Regions from separate parts of the Homo sapiens genome. Here region 1 is linked to region 2. The links are contacts of gene promoters, found by promoter capture Hi-C in blood cells and fetal thymus (Javierre and others, 2016). All regions are on one chromosome and are shown on one strand. Each heading gives the region's core, a stretch centred on a gene start or on the middle of the fragment in contact. The rest is flanking DNA. Distances are from core to core; before and after follow the strand shown. Region 1 overlaps BCL6 (BCL6 transcription repressor). Region 2 holds the start of CLDN1 (claudin 1).

What was found. The method cuts DNA at HindIII sites, captures the fragments that hold promoters and counts their contacts. A CHiCAGO score of 5 or more calls a contact.
Region 1: a fragment that was not itself captured here is called in contact with the fragment with the promoter of CLDN1 in region 2 in 1 of 17 cell types (naive CD8 T cells); the score reaches 5.9 in naive CD8 T cells.

The regions. Positions count from the first base shown.
Region 1 is chr3:187,736,879-187,742,283 of GRCh38, forward strand. All of the region lies in intron 1 of BCL6 (BCL6 transcription repressor), which reads right to left. Among named protein-coding and RNA genes, the nearest start is that of BCL6-AS1, 4.1 kb to the right of the region's middle. RefSeq lists enhancers at 1,239-2,218, 4,311-4,812, 4,813-5,312 and a silencer at 2,720-2,895. The HindIII fragment of the contact is 1,021 bases long and covers 2,718-3,738 here.
Region 2 is chr3:190,320,358-190,325,936 of GRCh38, forward strand. It overlaps CLDN1 (claudin 1), which reads right to left and starts at 2,089. Exons shown (of 4, transcript NM_021101.5): 1 at 1,627-2,089. The coding sequence starts at 1,849. It also overlaps a transcript of CLDN16 not described here. RefSeq lists a silencer at 2,080-2,239. The HindIII fragment of the contact is 3,794 bases long and covers 1-3,115 here.

The sequences.
Region 1 (5,405 bases), core at 1,978-4,477, 2.6 Mb before region 2:
CCCCCTCAAGATTGCATCTTATCCTTATAACAGCCCTGCTTTATTAGGGAGGGAACTGAGGCTCCGGGTGAGAGGCCTTGCCCAAAATCTCAAAACCAATTTCCAGCAAGTTCTGGACACGCCGCGTCTCCTAGATTCAGCCATTCCACCAATGCCACACACAAGACTACCCACAAAAACAATCTCCAAGGAGCAGGGCTGTCAATGAGAAACTGACAACTGCTGGCTGCCCCCAGACCTGGACTTCCCATCCCAATCTCCCCGCACCCACGCTGGGTCAGTAACCACCATGGGAGAGTTAAATGTTTTCTCTTCCCTTCCTCCCTTTAGCTCTTTTGGCGCTTTCCTTGTGCATAGCCAACTAGGCTCCTTGAGAAGACAGATCCTTTAAAAGAGCTTTCCATTGAAGAAGAAAACAGGAACCAAAAAAAAAAAAAAGCAAAGAGAGAGAGAAGACAGCAGAAACGACAGAGAGAGAGAGAGAGAGAGAGAGAGAGAGAGAGAGAGAGAGAGAGAGAAAATGAGAGAAGAGGGAGAGGCGAGGTTAAGAGCCAGAGAGCAAGCCAATACAAAAGACCCCATCCTTTTCCTCCCTCCTCCCCTGGGCTGGCACCAGAAAGCCCCATTTTCTCGCTCACACATAAGAGCACAAACACCAGCCCTGCGCGCCGGGGCAAGCCTAGGCAGACTTCGCTACCCCACCCCGACCACTCCGTACCTGTCTTCCAGGGACTGCCCGCCCCTGGGCGATCCACCTCGAAGCCCCCCGCAAGGCGCGACGGAGGCTTTGTGGTATGACCGTGGCGGCCCTTAATTTAGTTACATTCAAATAAAACTTTTGGTGCACCTCGGTAGCTAACATTGTGTGTATGCCTTTTTTTTTTTTTTTTTTTTTTTCCTGTTACGCCGTCAATGCAGCAGGCAATGAGGGGAATGACACAGCCCTCTCATTCCCGGAACGTAGTCAATCTCGGCTCTGCGGATTTCACAGAACACACTTTGCCTATTGCCGGCTCCAACAAGAAGTAACTTTCCAGGAAGCTGCCGGCCCCGGCAGCCGCCAGGATCGCTGCCTGCGCTGCGCTGGCCGCCGGGGATTCACCCAGGGAGGCGGGGCCGCTGGGGAAGGCTCGCGGGGAATACAGCACACTTTCCCCTAAATCCCTCGTCCGCGCCGAGTGCAGGGCTCTCAGAGTTCACCTAGTCCCACCTCTCACCCACAACAGTTTATAAATGGGGAAGGTCAGACAAGTTAGTAGCAGAGCTGGGTCTAGAACCCAGGAGTTCGAATACAATCCGAGGCTCATATCGAGACTTTAAGTTGTCCGATTCCGAAGTTTATTTGCTTTTTTCCCTCTTTTTGCCTTCCATTCTCCCTCACCCCCGTTCTTTTAGGGGAATGTTTGAGCGAGACTTCAAGGTCAAAAGATGGAGTCCCTAGGGGCTGAGGGTCTCCATCATAGGCGCCCCAGGCAAGGTTGGAGAAAAACTAAACAGAAAGCCCCTTCCGCCTACGTTGGCAAGAACGGGAACCCAGCTCCACTTGGTTTCCGCCCAAAGTCTTTAGAACAGGAGCTGCCAAGCCGTAAGGATTTCCGAATCCGATTTCCCCGAAACCGTAGAGACACAGCTTGGACTCGGCAAAGGCCGGGGCCCCGACCCCTGCGCGCGCACTGGCACTCTCCAAAGTTGCCTCGCCTTCCTGTGGCCCTCCCGGGAATTATAACCCCCGGGTGCCATGTCCTAATTGGTCTCGGTAGCAGGCTCCGGGGTGCGCTTTCGGGGGCTAGGGGACAGCGAAAGACTCAGCCACAAAGGCCGCAGTCTGGTCCTAAAACTAGCCAGTGGCGTCACACTGCGCCGCTCATCCCTTCTGCGGCAAGCGGAAGGGTCAGAGTCGGTCTGCAAAGAACGAGCCTTTGGCCTCAAAATCCTACATTGAGGCTTTCTCACCCCTTCGCCCGGTGGGATAAAGGTGAAAGAGACGGTTGGGATTTAATAAGGGGTAGGGATGAGAATCTGGGAAGTTAAAATGAAGTAAGTGCATTTATTGGAAATTAGGAGTCCCGTGGTTCCGGGAGCTCAAACCGAATGGTGTTTTTACCGCTGCCTAACGCTAGAGAGAGCCCTCCATCAAGGTTTGAAACCGTCAACCCCTTTCTCGCCCCTCCCCTCCTTCCCATTGACCTAGTTTGGCCAGAGCCTCCCGATTTGGAGAATGCCTTCCGCCCTTCCCCCCTCCTCTCCAGCCAGAGAGGCTACAGAGGCTGTTGGATTATTGGTAATCTAATAACTCCAATAACCCGCTGAAAAATCCAAAGGGAAATCTGAAAGTGTAAAGCACTGTTTAGGGACAAGGACAAGGAATTTTAATAAGGCTGCAACTGCCGTAGTGAACCCCGCATCAGGGGCCCTGCCGTGGGGCTCCCGGTCTCAGCAGTGTTTCAGCCAACTAGCTGCACGGCTGCAGACACCACCGTGGTCCGGCGGCAGGGGGTGAGGTCAAATCGCGGAGCTGTTTTTATTCTTGGGGGAAAACACTCTTCGCCCTCTTGGCTGGGGAACGGGAGGGTGCAGGAGACGACAGTAAATAAAAGCGAATTTGATAACGCGATGGCCTCGACAGCCGCTTTGGATAACCGAGGTGTTCGGGGACATTGTGTCCTGACTTTCATTTCTATCACGTTTCCTGCCAACAGTGCTCTTGCAAGCCTGCAAGCTTCTAGGAAATGCAATAAAACAGAGGGATGTGTTTTATCATCAAGATCTGAAGAGGAGTTGCAGAAGGGACGTTCCCCATACGCTCAGCGCGAGACAGCCTTCCAGAAGGGCCCGAAGACAATGCCAGCAAATCGCGTCCCGGAGCAGAGATCCCTCGGCCGTCCTGGCTGGACTGGGCTCAGCCTTTGCAAAAAGGCTGGCGGGGGAGGGGAGAAGCATGATCTCCTCAAGCAAACAATGCCTTTAAAAATCCGATCTGGAAAGAAGTCAGCCAAGGTCCTTATTCACGTTAATGAAGATGGAAGGCACTAACTGTCCTTGGAAAGCGATGAGTCAAACTTGACCGCGCTTCAAACTCGTTCCCAGATTCGTTTCCAGTCCGAACAGAGGCGCGTTTCTCCGACGCGGCCTCCGACGGCTCCCGCAGTGGGAGGGGCCGAACTCGATCCCCGCCGACCCGGGCGGGGGCGACGGCGCTGTCTCCCCCTGCAGAGCGCGCCTGCTGCCGCTAGGGGCCGCCAGCATGCGGACGCGCGTTTGCCATCTTAAGTCACGAGCTCGGAGAAAGAAAACTTTACGGAGGAACTGTTGTGGCACAAATTCTGGCCTATCCACATGACCCCCACCCCCTCACACACACACACCCGGTTTCTCGCCAGGCTACTATGCAGAGGATGTTAGGAAGGGGAAGAGAGCGATTTCAGAATCGAGGCTCGCCCTGCAAGTCTTTGGTCCAGGCCTTAACCCCCCTCTTAACACGCAAACCCCCGAGCTCCGAGACCCACACCCTTCAGCACCATCTGGGCTTTTCGTGTCATTACCGAAAATCTTAGGCCATATTTTCTTTAAAAAAAATCCTCCAAGACTGCTGGGGAGCGGTTTCCAATGAACACTGGCAACAAAGGTGACCTAAGAGGTTAAACTCATGGTTCTGGCAGCCGCTCCTTTCTCATAAATACTTCTAAGGAGCTGAGATAAACCCGCCTTTGGCTTTCAGTCACTGACATGAAATTCAGAAGCTTAAAATCTGGTCCTGGTTAAGTCACTAACTCACCACTAACAAGCCTCCTCGTCGGGCCTGTTTCCTCAACTGCAAAACAGAGTTGTACGTCCCAAAGCCCCTGAGCTCCTAGGTGGCATCCTTCCACTACCGACTTCCCCTAAGAGGGGCCACAGGGACAGGAAGATGGTGTGTTCGAAGCGGGTTATTTGTGGTTTTTCTTAGTGCAAATAGATGCTCATCGCTGAGTGATGGGCAAGCAGCGAGGCCTTTCTGATTTTCATCCCTCTTGCCAAAACTTTGGAGGTTGTATGCCATCCCCATTGGAGGGTGCCCTCCTTCTGTCAGTCCTAGCATCTGGTCAGGGTACCGCCGCCCGGGAGGTGGAACGGCGAGCCCACCGCCCATGGCCGCGAACTCGATCTCAGCCCACCGCTAGGTGGCAGGCCAGCCCGTCCGAGAATCGCCGCGCGGCCGCAGCTTCCACACCGATCCCTACCCGCCCCTCTTTATTTTCTGTCTGGTGGGGGCGAGGGTTGGGGGTGTGATTGCCTCTAAAAGCAAAGCTAGAAAACATTTAATTTAGTGTATGTAATTCCGTTCCTCCCGATGCTCCCGCCTCTAGCAACCACAACGCGGTATCTGGAGCTGGTTTCATGTATCATAAGTTGATTTCTCCCCCAGCCTCCGAAAAGCTTTATGTACTGGGAAGGGAAAGAAGGTGCACTTGTCTTCAAAAGGCAGAATGGCACTCGACAGTATTGGCAGAGATTCTTGCCAAACACTGGTCATCCAGCAAAGAAAGTCGGGAATAAACTCCTGATCTTCTCGGAGGAAAGGGGCGCTGGGGGCCGAGTGCTGGATCCCACTCAGGCTCACTGCGCCTGGCAAAGCGGGGGAGTGGGGAGTCGGGTATGGTCTTTTGGTGAAGTTGTGGGTCTCGGAGTGGACATCGGGAGGGTTGGGAGGGGCCGTTCCTGGTTTCCACTGGGGCAAAGAGAAACCAGCCAGTTCTGCCACCACGCTGCACCCTCGCTGTGCTCGCGGCGGCAGCGGCGGTCCCACTTGTTGCGCAGTGCTGGAAACCGGCACGCGCCATTCGATGTTGATTCACAGAGGGCTACAGACCAGCCTACCATTGCTCCACGCCATCCACAAACCTCCTCAACACACCCCCTACACATACGTCCTGCCACCGCCGGCAAAACTACAGCATTTCCAGCCACTATGGTGTTTTACACCAAAACATCCCTCACTATCTCGGTATCAGACAGGCAGCAGAATTAAGATGCCCTGAGAAGTCAATCCAAGGGGAAGGCCGGGCTACCTCCGCCTGGAGAACTCTTCTACTTAAAATCAACCAGGCACCCTCCCCCCACCAAAAAAAAAAACCTTAGAACCACGTTGCCTATTATAACACCATCCTAGTTGGAAAGCAACATTTTTCTTCCCTACTTGATAAACTTCAAAGTCCTTTTTATCCGTTAGTTTTATCTCCCCTATTTTTTTTAAATCTCTGGGGGAAAAATGTTTCATAAGTTCACTTCCCAATATTTTTCAAAAATTGACTTTTGCCAATAGTTTCACCCACCGAGGGGTGGCGCTGCTGCACCGCCTCCTCTATATCTCTTAAGTTTTTCACAACAAAGTGGGTTGTGAGTGTCATTACCCTGTAGGGGATAGA
Region 2 (5,579 bases), core at 839-3,338:
GTGGTACCTAAAATGCCTGACACCGTTTCCTTAAATATATTTATCTTTCCATGGAGAAATTCAATAATTATTACCAAATTTTTCATTTTATAAGTACAAATATAACCCCTGAGGGCAATGAGCAACACATAATTACTAAACTTATGGATTGGTTTTGGTGTAAAGAAGTCCTGATATGAGAACCTTCAAAAGCTGAAATAATAACACTCAAAACAACCATGCACATTGACTGAGCAAATGCCACAGGTATTCAAGGTGTTCAAACAGATTTGGAACAGGTTTAATAACTCTAAACTATATGGCTTTTGATATACACTATTAAAAGTTGTCCCTTGATAGGAGGTAGACAAAACAAGTTAAGTAAACTTGAACAATGCCAACACTTTTCACCCTTAGCATGCAATGGGGGCCAGTGGGCAGTCACGTTCATCTAGGCAAAGACTAAGGGATCTTTTCTTCAAGTGAGTTAAAGGGCATAACAGACACATGATATAAGACAATTAATGTGATTTCTCAAGGAAGATACTCCAGCCGTGAATCATTATTATCTAAGTAAATGGGAATTTAATGACTTTTCGGACAAGGAACTCGAAACCTTTAATTTAAAAAACAAAGTAAAACAATTATCCTATTATCCTTCTTCCCACCATCCTTAGAAATATGTCTCTCTATACAATCCTTTCCAGTTTTACAGGGGGTCACTGAACATCCATTACACAGAAATTTCTTTGTGGAAGATGGAAACCTAAGGAAGACCCACCTCTTCTTTCTCTCTCACTGCCTTCCACTCCCAGCTGACCTCTGATTTCATCAGCTATGACTATTTTGCTGCATTTCCCTTCAGTGCCTTTACTTTTTTCTTTGTATTATGTTGCGCAGGTTATTTAGAACCTTTCTTGTCAGCCTTTCCCCACCTGCCACCAACCTTCTCTTTCCAAGATAGCACTACACCGTCAGCCTCTACAGAAGACCTTGGGTCTGAAAATTAAAACTTCGGGGGAATCTCAAGCAGCTTCTCCAAAGAGTCTTGCAAGGGGCCTCCCTGCACTAACTGGATCTTATAAATTAAAAGAATCAACCTCAAGCATAAGCAGAAGACACTTAGATAGGACATTTCCAGTAGGAATGTAACTTTTACTATGAAAAAATCATATTAAAGGTTAAAAAGTTATATCTAATACTTGAGGATTATTTATTTAAGCGTGCACACTTGAGAAGTTACCAGGCTTCAAACTTTTTCAGTCATCCCATTTTCTTGTCTGAACTCTACCAATCCTCAATTTACCCCAAATCTCGGAATGCCTAGGAGAGGTCTAAGAGCTCAAGTTCAAGTTTGGCCTTCACTCCCTCAACTCGAACCACCAGCATAGGAATTTAGGATGAAGCCACACCTAGAGTGGCAGAAGTGTCACCCAGGGAGTTAGAGGCAAAACTAGAGCTTATGCCTGGGCGTCGCTTTCCTCAAACCAGGATTCTCTTCATTTCCTTATGACAGAGCACATGATCAGAAGACTTGATCAACTGAAGACTGATAACCATGGAATCACACAACAGAATGAGCCCATAAGGGAGCTGCAGGGGGACTGGGGCCTCTGGACGGCCGCTGTGAGGTGGGGGTGCACTCACTGCTCAGATTCAGCAAGGAGTCAAAGACTTTGCACTGGATCTGCCCGGTGCTCTGCGACACGCAGGACATCCACAGCCCCTCGTACATGGCCTGGGCGGTCACGATGTTGTCGCCGGCATAGGAGTAAATCCTCCACTGGGGCAGGGCAGTGCTGACGATGGCGCCGATCCATCCCAGGAAGGCGAGAATGAAGCCCAACAGCTGCAGCCCCGCGTTGGCCATGACTCGCTCGGGCGCCCGCGCTGGCTCAGGGGTGGCAGGTGCAGAAGGCGGAGAGTTTGCAGGTGGGCAACCCGGACTCCCGAAGGTGGCTGGGCCCCGCGGAGGAAGTTAAGGCGGGGAGCCCTGCTCGCTGCGCCGCCGCTGGAGAAGCTCTGGGTCGGGGTTGGGGTCCGCGCCCGGGGCGGCGCTGGAGTCTGGATACTAGAAGCTGCGGTTGCTCCCAGGCTCGGGAACTGAGACGCAGAACCGCTGGGCGCCGCGATTTAAAGCAGCTCCGCCCGCCTCAGCCCCGGCAGCCGGGGAGCGCCCCCTGGCGGTTTCAGGGCGGCTCACCGAGAGGGCGCCGGGAGCGCCCGGTTGGGGAACGCGCGGCTGGCGGCGTGGGGACCACCCGGCAGGACCAGGCACCAGAGCTGCGTCCCTGCTCGCTTTCTCTCGTGGATCTTCTCGCTCCTGTAAGGCGTTTCACGCTTTTCATTCATTCACTCCAATTATCCAAAAATTACTATGCACTGTACTTGTAAATCCTAACACAAAGATGAAAAAATGATCCTTCAAGAGCTGCAGTTTTAGGTTTAATACTTTTTTCCCAATATCTTATTAAAAGGCATTTCTACCCAACTCCGCGTCTCCTCCCCCATCACACCATTTCTCTCTCCTTTGCTTGGCTTCCTCCCCCTTCTTTCCTCTCTCTGCTCTCTTCTGTCAAGGTCGTTCCATCACTTGTCTCTGCAAGGAGCCTCAGAGACTTTTACACTCTACAGATTGGGAAACAGACCCAGAGAGCAACATGATTTACACACACACACACACACACACACAGACACACTCACGCACGGAGCATATCCAGTACTTGGCTCCCCTCCCAATCTGCTTTCCACTACATATCAAGTTGACCCAAAATATCCCCTTTGATCTATGATTGTCCTTTTTGATGTATTATTGTCCTTATGAAACTGCAGGCTAGCAGCCCTTCCCCGCCAAACACCAACCTCCTCCCCACAGCAGTTATGTCTTAGAGCAGCAATTCATTATCAGAGGGACCTGGCCAGTGCCCCGCTCTCCCTGAAAGGTGTTAATTTTGTGAGTTATCAAATGTTGTTCGTCGCAGGTGAGGACATGTAAACAGCGTTTCCCCAGTGGCAAAAGGACTGGGCTGGAGTTGAGGAAGTCTGGGCTCTGGTTCCAGCTTTTACTGTGACTGGCTATCTCACCCCTCCGGTTTCGGTCTCGCTGGGACTGTAGTTTCCCTCTATGTTTCTCCAAAGCTTCCTTCTTTGTAGTTAGTCAGAAGTGCTGTTGTGGTTAGGAATCATTGAAATGTTTTTCCAACTGCTTTTTGTGTGTGGTGCGAGTGTGGTGGGAGGGGAAGCTTCTATGGTTTTAGTAAAAACAGAAGCATCTTGGAAGCAGAAATAAACATATTAAGGATAAAATAAGATATACCCTTATATACCATGGCAACTGCTAGTTGGTGACAGAGAAGGAAAGGTGCAAATTCTCAAGGTGGGAATGGGAAGAAAGGCCAAGCCCCACCACCTTCATTTCCACCTGGCTCTCCCTGGATGCCTTTCATGTAGGCTTAAAACTAAAGGACTTGGCCGTGCTAGGATTTAGGGACAAGCAATGAAGAATGTAAGACAGGAGCTAGATGAAGACAATTAATTTGGACTGAGATTAACACAGTGAATACTGTCTTTCTCCTATCAGCTGTTTAGGACAAGACCATGTTCGTGTTGTATCCCAGGGTTAGGGCCTGCAGTCAGTACTACTGTCTAGGTCTCAGTGGATGTTCTGTGGGTGCCTGTCAGTGTGGATGAAGATGTATCAATCACATTTGATTTTGTAAAAATTCCCTGATCAGAGAAGGCACTGGAATTTGCTGCAGGACTAGAGCAGTACCATGTGAATCATATAATCTCATTTTCTTCTTTTTTTTGTTCCAAACATTTAAGAATTAAAAGTATTATTAAACACCCGGGCACGGTGGCTCAGGCCAGGCGCAGTGGCTCACGCCTGTAATCCCAACACTTTGGGAGGCTGAGGCAGGCGGATCACTTGAGATCAGGAGTTCGAGATCAGCCTGGCCAACATGGTGAAACCCCGTCTCTACTAACAATATGAAAATTAGCCGGGCATGGTGGTGGGCGCCTGTAATTCCAGCTACTTGGGAGGCTGAGGTAGGAGAATTGCTTGAACCCGGGAGGCGGAGGTGGCAGTGAGCCCAGATCGTGCCACTGCACTCCAGCCTGGGCAACAGACCAAGACCCCATCTCAACAAATAAATAAATAAATAAATAAACAAATAAATGACATTTTCTGCGTTCAGTAAATATATTTGTGCACAGGCCCTTTTACTCTGCATTACAACTGGTTTCTATCAACCTACAATTAGCGGGGAATCGGAGGGATGAGTTCTGTGGTCAGCAGGGTCCCGTGTTTTTGTTTTGTATTTCAGGTCTGTGCGAGGCTGATTACTTCACTACCCACAACCATGTTTGTGAGGCTGAGGTGAATGCTGTTTGCTTCACTGTGATTCAGGCCCATCTCTAGGCATCCTTAATCCTGTCTAGTTTTCTGCTCCTAGCTTAAGTGCAGAGGACAGGTGAGATAATGGCTCAGCATAAATCTATCAACTTAAGAGGAAAAACAGCTTCCAAATACTGGCCTTTCATATCTGAAACATAAACAGTAAAGGCAGCACTGAGACCAAGAAGGCTCTAGAAAGGCTGGCAATGGTATGGTAAGTGTCCTAGCCTGTTGAGTAGTAAAATCTGCTATGTACCCTCAGACAAATTACTTCTTTTCTTCCTCAGTTTCCCTACCAATAAAAGGGATGGGGTTAATTTCTGAAAGTCACCCAAGTCTAAAGCTTTATGACTCTAAGTAATGACAGCTGGCACTTGTTGCTGTATATTTTCATCAAGTGTTGAGGTCAGAGTTTTATATGCTATCTCTACGTGCAGGTAACAGACACAGAGAGGTCAGGCTGCTTATCCAAGTTCATATTGAATATGGCAGCGCTGGAATTCCAAACTATATAATTTGACGCTCGTGTCCATGCCTTTGACTGCTCTCCTGCAGTATTTCTCTGTGTGACCCAAATCAATCGAGGACAATTTTTTTTTTCTTCTTTGGAAGAGCTTAGACATACTTATCATGTGTTTCTTGCTCCAGGCAGTGGCAAGATATTTTACTCTGTGACTGTCTCTTCTTAATATCTGTTGCAGCCCACTGAGGTTTTATACCCTGGGGATTTAGAATCATGTGGCAAAAAGTTGTTGCTGTTGAGGAGGAAGAGATGTGTAAAAACAGCAAATAGCGTACTGGTTTATTCCATGTGCTTGTGCGACTGATGCTTGGGCTTAGCCATGATCTTGAGAACCAATAATAAGTAGAAGAGATATACACATAAAAGACAGAAGCAAAGGTAAGACTGTGAGTGTCAGAAGAGAGTGTAGACAAAGAACCAAGCCTCTAAGAGGCAGCATGGCAGATTCTCAGAAATGGTTAATGATGACAGTATGAAAGCCATTGGGATGTTAATTTTTTTGCTTAGTGTTAATATATGTTAATGTTGACTTTTCAGAGCTTCTTAAGTGGTAAAAGCAGAACGAATGAACACATTACTAAGTAAGCAATCTGCTGTGTAATTATTTAGGGCTTGAGAAAAGGATCAGAGTACAAATATTGTATAAATTTAACATGAATTTTAGTATTAAAACATTCA